Regions from separate parts of the Homo sapiens genome. Here region 1 is linked to region 2. Evidence: promoter capture Hi-C in 16 types of primary human blood cells and fetal thymus (Javierre and others, 2016). All regions are on one chromosome and are shown on one strand. The core of a region is centred on a gene start or on the middle of the fragment in contact, and the rest is flanking DNA. Distances in the headings are between cores, read along the strand shown.

Region 1 (3,866 bases), core at 1,171-3,670, 120 kb after region 2:
GATTATTTTGAAATCTTTTTCAGACAGTTCGTAGATCTTCATTTCTTTAGGGCTGGCTACTGGAGCTTTATTTTGTTCCTTGGGTGGGGGGATTATGGTTTTCCTGTTTATTTGTGATCCTTCTGGCTTTGGTTTGGTAGTTGTGCATTTGAAGATGTAGGTACCTCTTCCAGTCTTTACAGGCTGGCTTTGGCAGGGAAAGCCCATCACCCAGTCAGCCTACTCAGAATCTCTGAACAGGCTGATTGGTCGAGTGCATAGGTTGGCTTTCTTCTGAAGTCCTTGGGTAGGCTGGCCTGGTCCCTGGGTCAGCAGGTAGGCATTCCTAGCACCTGGGTTTATAGGATCAGTCCTGTTGCCTGGGTGTGTGGGCCTGGATTCTGGGGTCATGGGGATCAGCCTGGTAAAAGGATCTACTGGGTTGGGCTGGCAATGGGGTCTGCAGGAGCAGGCCTGAAGCTTGGATCCACAATGACTAACTGGCAATGGGGCAGTCTTGGCGTCTCTTTCCATGGAGGTGAGCCTGGTGCCTGGTACCATGTGGCTGGGCCTAGAACCTGTTTCTGTGGGGACTTGCCTGGCACCAGGTTCTATTGGGCAGGCCTGAAGCCTGGGGCTTTGGGGGCCATCCTGGCACTGGAGCTTGCCTTAAGCCTGGTCCTGCAGGGGCAGGCCTGGAGCCTTAGGTCACTGGCTGTCCTTGTGTTGGATTTGGCCTGGAGCTTAGGTACATGGCGGCTGGCCTGGCACCAAAATTCACTGGGGAGGCCTGGGGCTGGGGTCCCCAGTGAAGTAGGGTGCTCATATCATTCTCGTTTTCCTCCAGCGAGGGTCTCTCTTGTGAGCTTGGGGGAAGGGAATCATGGATAATGTGAAGCCGTCTTTCATACCCCCTTTAATGTATATTTTCTTATTTCTGCATTCTACCTAGGTGCTGTGATCTCTTACCTGGATTCCTTAGTTCTTTTGAATATATTTTTGTACTTGGATGTTTGTTCAAACTGATGTTTCTGTGAAGGGATGTGTGTTGGAAACTCCTATTCTGCCATCTTGCTGACATCGCTCCTCAGTTTTAATATCTAAAATAGCACATACTAATATATATATAATTCATATAAGCAAAAGCTCTTTAGGGTACTCAGTAATTTTTATTTTTCCTCTTTTCTTTCTTTTTTAGAGATATGGTCTCACCATGTTGCCCAGGCTGGGCTTGAATTCCTGGCCTGAAGCGATCCTTCCACCTTGGCCTCACAAAATGTTGAGATTACAGATGTGAGCTACCACATCCAGGCTCTCAGTAATTTTTAATAATGTAAAGTAGTCTTTTGTCCATAAATTTGGCTGCTTGTTTAGATAAAAAGAAACTGAAGAGACATGACCACAAAATGTAATTCATGATCTTAGACTGGATACTTTCCAGTAGGAAATGAAAATGCTCTAAAGAGCATTATTGGGATAATCTTCAAAATTGGAATTTGGACTGTGGGTTAGATATAATTGTATCAATGTAAATTTCTTGAATTTCATAATGGTACTATCATTATGTAAGAGAGAGGAGGTACAGACTATAGTTTTACAGGCATGATATATGAAGCCTACTTACAAATGGTTTAGAAAAATAAGCATGCATATATATGTAGGGAGAGAATGATAAAACAAATATGGCAAAAATTAGTGAACTCTGCATAAAGGCTATACAAGAGTTCTGTGCAATGTGAAATTATTTCAAAATAAAAATTACAACAATTATAAAGAATATAATGAATATCTTAGAAGCAATTTTTACAAATTAATTGGCGAGTGTTTTATTGTGCTTGTGATGAGTATGAAATGTTTTCAGCAGTTGAAGACACTTCTGGTTATGTAATAACTTTGTAGTTGTCACCACTTTTCAGAGGATACTCTTTATGCTCTGCTGCCCCCTAGTGACTTTATGCTCATCAGCAATTGTTTCTTCCAAGTGTAGTAAGTTGGAAATGAAGAGCACTATAATCATTATTTAAAAACAACTTAGTGTCAAGTCAAATAATTTTTCTGGGGGCGAGGGGGAAGACACTACCATGAAGCCATATCTAATGGCTTCCTTTTTTTCTTTGAATTTTTAAAAAATTGTATTTTTGTTCTTGTGGTTCCTTTGTATTGCATCCTCAGTTCTCTCTGTCTCTCTCTGAAGGTAATATTTACTGATTTCTCACCCAAGGGCAACAATGAAACTTAACTTGTGTACTCTTCTGTTATTCTTTCCTCTTAGCATTAAATATCAGGGAATAGTATTATCTTAGTGCTTTACTTTGTAGTCAAGCATACTTGATTTGGCCCATAATCTCTCATTTGTAATCCCCAAATCCTAAAGGCTCTAAAAACTATTTGTTGTCAAAATCTGCCTTAATTCATTTGGCAAGAAAACCTGATGTGAATTGACTTAATATATTAATAATCTTTATATTTACCACTTTTGTGAATATTCCTATATTTTACTGCTGAAATATGAATGTGTTTGATTATGGAATGCTTAAGATCTTACTGGGATGTTACATAATATGTGACAGATGAGCTGTATTTTTTTTAAATGTACAGAATTTGGTATTATGAAACATTTTGCTACAAGGATTTTCGATTAGGGATTGTAGACCTGTAGTTGATTTGCCTAGCTTTGGCTCACAGTTACTGGTATAAGATAGTTGACTAGTTTATTCTACTTTCTATCTTCTCTCTTTTTTTTCTTAGTTGTATAATTTTTATGTACTATTTTTATGTATCATACTTGATCACTTTTAATCTGACCTTGTTTTTGTCTTAGAGTTGCAGTTAAATATATTCAGTCTTCATTGACATTCTTTTTTATTGAAGTTTTCCCTGTCATCTAGTTGGGTTTGTGTTCCTCCTCTAGTAGTTGCCTTAAGAAGGACTTATGTGAACAACAATTTTTGAGTTATTGTATATTCAAATTTTAGCTCTATAGACTTTATATTTAAAGGCTAGCTTGGTTGAAATTAAAGTTCTTGGCTCATGTTTTGTTTCCTTGAGTATCTTGTCTTCTGGTGTTCAATGTTGCTGTGGAGAAGTCTGATACTTGCTGGTTTTTCTTTTTCCCTAAGTGCTTATTCTTGATTCTTATTATTTTTGGCTGTCTATTGACTCTTCTTCTTTCTATTTTATTTTATTTTATTTTTGAGATGGAGTCTTGCTCTGTCGCCCAGGCTGGAGTGCAGTGGCACGATCTCGGCTCACTGCAACCTCCACCTCCTGAGTTCAAGCAATTCTCCTGTCTCAGCCTCTCGAGTAGCTGGGATTACAGGCACGTGTCACCACACCCGGCTAATTTTTGTATTTTTAGTAGAGACAGAGTTTTGCCATGTTGGCCAGGCTGGTCTCGAATTCCTGACCTCAGGTGATCTGCCCGCCTTGGCCTCCCAAAGTGCTGGGATTACAGGTGTGAGCCACTGGGCCTGGCCCTTCCTTTTTTAGTTATTAGACATTACTCAAAGAATTTCAGCATGTATCCTTGACTCAGAGTATAATATAAATTAATATTTTTATCACTTCCTTGACACTGCTAGGAATATGTAACACTTTTTCATTTATCCTTTCCTACATCTTACACTGTTGTCATGAATTTTAATTTTACATGTAATTTTGTTCCCACACAACATTATCCTTATTATTTCGTAGAGTCACCATTCATGTATGTTTACTCTTTTGTTTGATTCTTCATTTCCTCCTCCATCTCTGTGCTTCATTCTGAGGTCACTTTTCCTTTTGTATGCAGAACTCCCTTTAGCATTTCTTTTAGTGAAGGACTCATTTATTTTGTTTGTATGAATAATGTCTGTATTTCACCTTATTTTAAAATTGCAGTAAAATAT
Region 2 (3,723 bases), core at 836-3,335:
ATCTGTGCTTTGTGCAGGCCATTCTACCTGTCTGCCCTGGGAGCCTGACCCTATTCCCCAGGGACACAGGCTACTGGATTTCTGCCCAAGTTGCTCAGGCTTTCCATGGCTGCTCTGTCACCACCTTCTGATTGCAGCAACCTCAAGCCTAAAAGAGACTCCTCACTATTAAGACAGGGGCGCTGTGGCATCAGAAACTAGACCCAGTATCACAAGACTCCCTGTCCTTTGGCGTTCATGAGAGCAAGGGATCTATTCTATTTATCCCAGAATCCTCAATAGTGTTCCAGCACAGTTCAGCCAGGGATGGTCAGCACTCAACAAAGTCTGTCTGCTCTCCATACAGCTAGCATGTCCTGCAGCTTGCCTTAGTGTAGTGCTTTGCTAGGTGTTAGGAACACACATCTGCATAGTGCAAAGGCTTTCCTGTCAAGGGAGGGAAGGAGGCAAGCAAACATATGCAGACAATACAGTGTGGTCAGTCCTATTTAACAATGAGGCAACACTTCACAGGTCAGGGTCATTTTCACATACAGTATCTCATTCAGTCTTCCCAAGTGCCCTGTGAGGCAGGGAGCGTCTTCCCCATTTCACATGAGGAAGGCCTGGAACTCAAACCCCAGTCTTCTCCCAAACTCCATCTAATACCTCAGACCTTCCTGCCCCACCCTCCAGTCCAGGAAACTCCTCACTCTCTACCAGTATCCCCGGCCCCTGCCACCTCTATTTCCCCTGGGTCTGTATTTCCCCTAAGGGGTGATGGGTCAAGATTCAAGGACAAAATCCTGTGGGTTGTTTCCTGGAGGGGGCGGACTAGGCCGCTTGCCCAGCCCCCAGAGGCGCACCAGTGGGTTCTGGAGGACAGGGACGGCAGGACTTCCCACCTACCTGGGGCATAGTTCAGCACCCTCACATTAGGTTCCTCCAGCGCCAGGACCTGGAACAGCATATCACGAGCAGCCTTTCCTGCACAGTACAGCGCCCAGCCTTTGAAAGGTTGCAGGGCACAGAGGGACGAGATGTTAACCACGGTTCTGTTGAGGCCAGGACTGTCCGGGAAGGCCTTCAGGACGCTGGAAGTCAGGCAGAGCATGGAGGTCAAGTTCAGTGCCCAGTAGTTGTTCACTTGAGTGGAGTCACTCAGGTCCACGAAGCCTTTGGACACATCCCCAAGAGAGCCTGAAAAACCAACCCTTAGGAGTAACTCAGTGCAGGCGGGGCTTTCTTCTTCCCCAGCCCTCCCAAGTTCCTCCAGATATCCTCTTCCCATGCAGACCTAGAGGAGGAAGCTGCCTAGCGCTTCTGAAGAGGCTTCTCTCTTCCCCAGCTCTGCGGAAAGACACAGCTGGGGAACCTAGCCATCCCAAGCTGCAGAATGAGAAGGCACCTGCCTTGCCGTGGGGCTGAAGGAAAGCTCTAGCGGTCCTTTGGAGAAGCAGAGAGTTTACTTGTTTGGAGACTCCAAGCCCTGACTCAGGCCTCCGCCAGAGGGCGCAGAGCAAGGGGCTCGGGAAAGTTCTACAGGCGCTTTGGAAAACCCGGCTGGCCAATTTTCCAGGAAGTGGGGGCAGACTGTTGTCCCGACGGCACCGAGTCTTCCTGTACACCTCGCCTCCACTTGCTACTCAAGCTGGAACAACTAGGGCTTTAGATTTCTAGGCGTCCTATCTGACCCCTAGGAGTAGCCCTTAAATTCCCCAGCGGTGGAGGAAGTGGGCGCTCACATGGGGAGTCCGCTCCAGCCCCGGGGTCTTACCCGCGTTGTTGATAAGCAGCAGTCGCTGCAGCCCCTTGGGCCGGGGGAGCTCGCGCAGGGCGCCGAGCAGCTGCTGCAAGCCGGCCTCGGCGCCCAGGTCGGCGGGCACCCGCACCACGCGCAGGCCAGACCGCTCGGCGCCCAGCTCGGCCTCCAGCTGGCGCAGTGCCTCGTCGTTGCGGGCGCTAAGGACAAGCACGGAGCCGGGCGACAGCAGCGAGGCCAGGAGCGGGGCCAGCGTCCGGCCGAAGCCGCGGGAGGCCCCGGTCAGCAAGCACACAGCACGCCCCAGCCCGCCCTCCATGCTCCTGTTCTCCGCCGGCGGCGCTGGCACCCGAGACCAGGCAGGAGGCGGTGCGGCCGCGGGGGGCGGGACCGCTACGGGTGTCGGCGGGGCCGCCCTGCCGGGGCGGGGCGGGAACCTCAGGCTTCGGGCCGCGAGCGCCCAGGGGTGCTGGTTCCCTTGGGATCTGGTTCCCTTGGTTGCTGGTGGCGGAAGTCAAACCGTGGCGGTAGCCCAGTCCGTGCCAAGTGGGACAACAGAGAGGGCCGGCAGGCGCGGCCCACACGGAAAGCCCTAGCCCGGTTCCCAGCGCTGCCGTGTTCTTCGCCCGCAAGCTCAGCCTCCGGCTGGGACGCATGCTCGAATTTCCTCCCAGTTCCAGCCCTAACTTTGCACTACTGACCTCTTCCAGGGCAGGCCCTGCACTGGGTGCTGGGCGTCCCTGGTCGTGGCCAGTGAACACCCTGAATGAAGCTTATGCCTGTTTAGGAATTGAAGTCTCTGCTTGTTTGGGAGCTCACCGCTCTCTGGATGACAGGAGCTTCCTCTGGGAGAACCACAGTGGCTCCAAATGATATTAAAACCTTTCCCTTTTACTAGGCCCTGAGCAGCTCCGTGATCCCACCAGTAACCCCTGCTTCTCTGAGATTTCTGACTCCTGTCCCTAAAAGTGTGTTCCCCAGGATTCTGCTCCTGCTCATGCTACAGTCTCCCTGGCAGCAATTCCATCCACTTTCAGCTTCAAGTTTGCGCAATCATCTGTCTGTACCTCCAGGCAGGTGCTTCAGAAAAATCCACATTTTTTTTTTTCTAGGAGAGGAGGAACGTGAGACAAGTTGGCATGCAGCTACATATATTAAAAAGGAATCTCTTCATGGTTTCCTTCTTAGTGGCCGAGTGGTATTCCATTGTGTATATACATATGTCCAAATATTGTGTGTCAGTTTTTAAAAAACGAATCTCTTTAGAGTTTAGCAAGGGCAGTAAGTAACCTCTGATAACTTAGCCCAATTCCCCACAGGGCTGATCCCTCCCCTGGGGCTAAACAGCAAAGTTACCGCCTTTCCACTATTATTGCCAACTCTAAGGAAGAAACAACTTGGAGGAAGGCTTTTTTCTTTTCTTTTTTCTTTTTTTTGACAGAGTCTCGCTCTGTGGCCCAAACTGAAGTGCAGAGGTGTGATCACAGTTTACTGCAGCCTTGAATTCTTGGGCTCAAGCAATCCTTCCACCTCAGGCTCCTGAGTAGCTAGGATTACAGGTGCGCACCACCACGCCTGGCTAATTGTTTTTTAAGCTTTTGGTATTTTAACGCTGATAAGACTCTGTATATGTGTATACCATTTGAAGTTGCCCTGCTTTTCACTTACCTATTCACACTGAAGATAAAGATCTCATTGGCCCAACAGCTTACTATTTAAAGAATTTTAATAGCTTCTCCCTGCTCTCCAGGCCTTAGAAGACAGGTTGATGAAAGCACGATCCCATCCATCCATTCATTTGACATTTGTTAAATTTCTACCATTTGCCAGATTTTTGAAGAAAAGGAGGGAACAATGAAGGGATGGCAAAAAATCAGACCTAGACTCTTCTGAACCTAGCTGCTTCTAGGAGGAACCACTTGGGAACAGCCCCTAAGGAGAACGTGGTTTTCCTATACTAGGAGAGGGTCTGGAAAATTCTT

Evidence for each region. Contacts are between HindIII fragments. The CHiCAGO score rates a contact against its expected background, and 5 or more counts as called.
Region 1: a contact is called between a fragment that was not itself captured here and the fragment with the promoter of SPR in region 2, in 1 of 17 cell types (fetal thymus). The highest score is 5.3, in fetal thymus.

What each region holds. Positions count from the first base shown.
Region 1 is chr2:72,769,119-72,772,984 of GRCh38, reverse strand. All of the region lies in intron 1 of EXOC6B (exocyst complex component 6B), which reads left to right. Among named protein-coding and RNA genes, the nearest start is that of EXOC6B, 55 kb to the left of the region's middle. RefSeq lists enhancers at 100-599, 600-1,101. The HindIII fragment of the contact is 3,917 bases long and covers 462-3,866 here.
Region 2 is chr2:72,885,770-72,889,492 of GRCh38, reverse strand. SPR (sepiapterin reductase) reads right to left here and starts at 2,085. Exons shown (of 3, transcript NM_003124.5): 1 at 1,757-2,085; 2 at 889-1,179. The coding sequence starts at 2,060. RefSeq lists silencers at 1,031-1,205, 1,844-2,233. The HindIII fragment of the contact is 9,789 bases long and covers 1-2,515 here.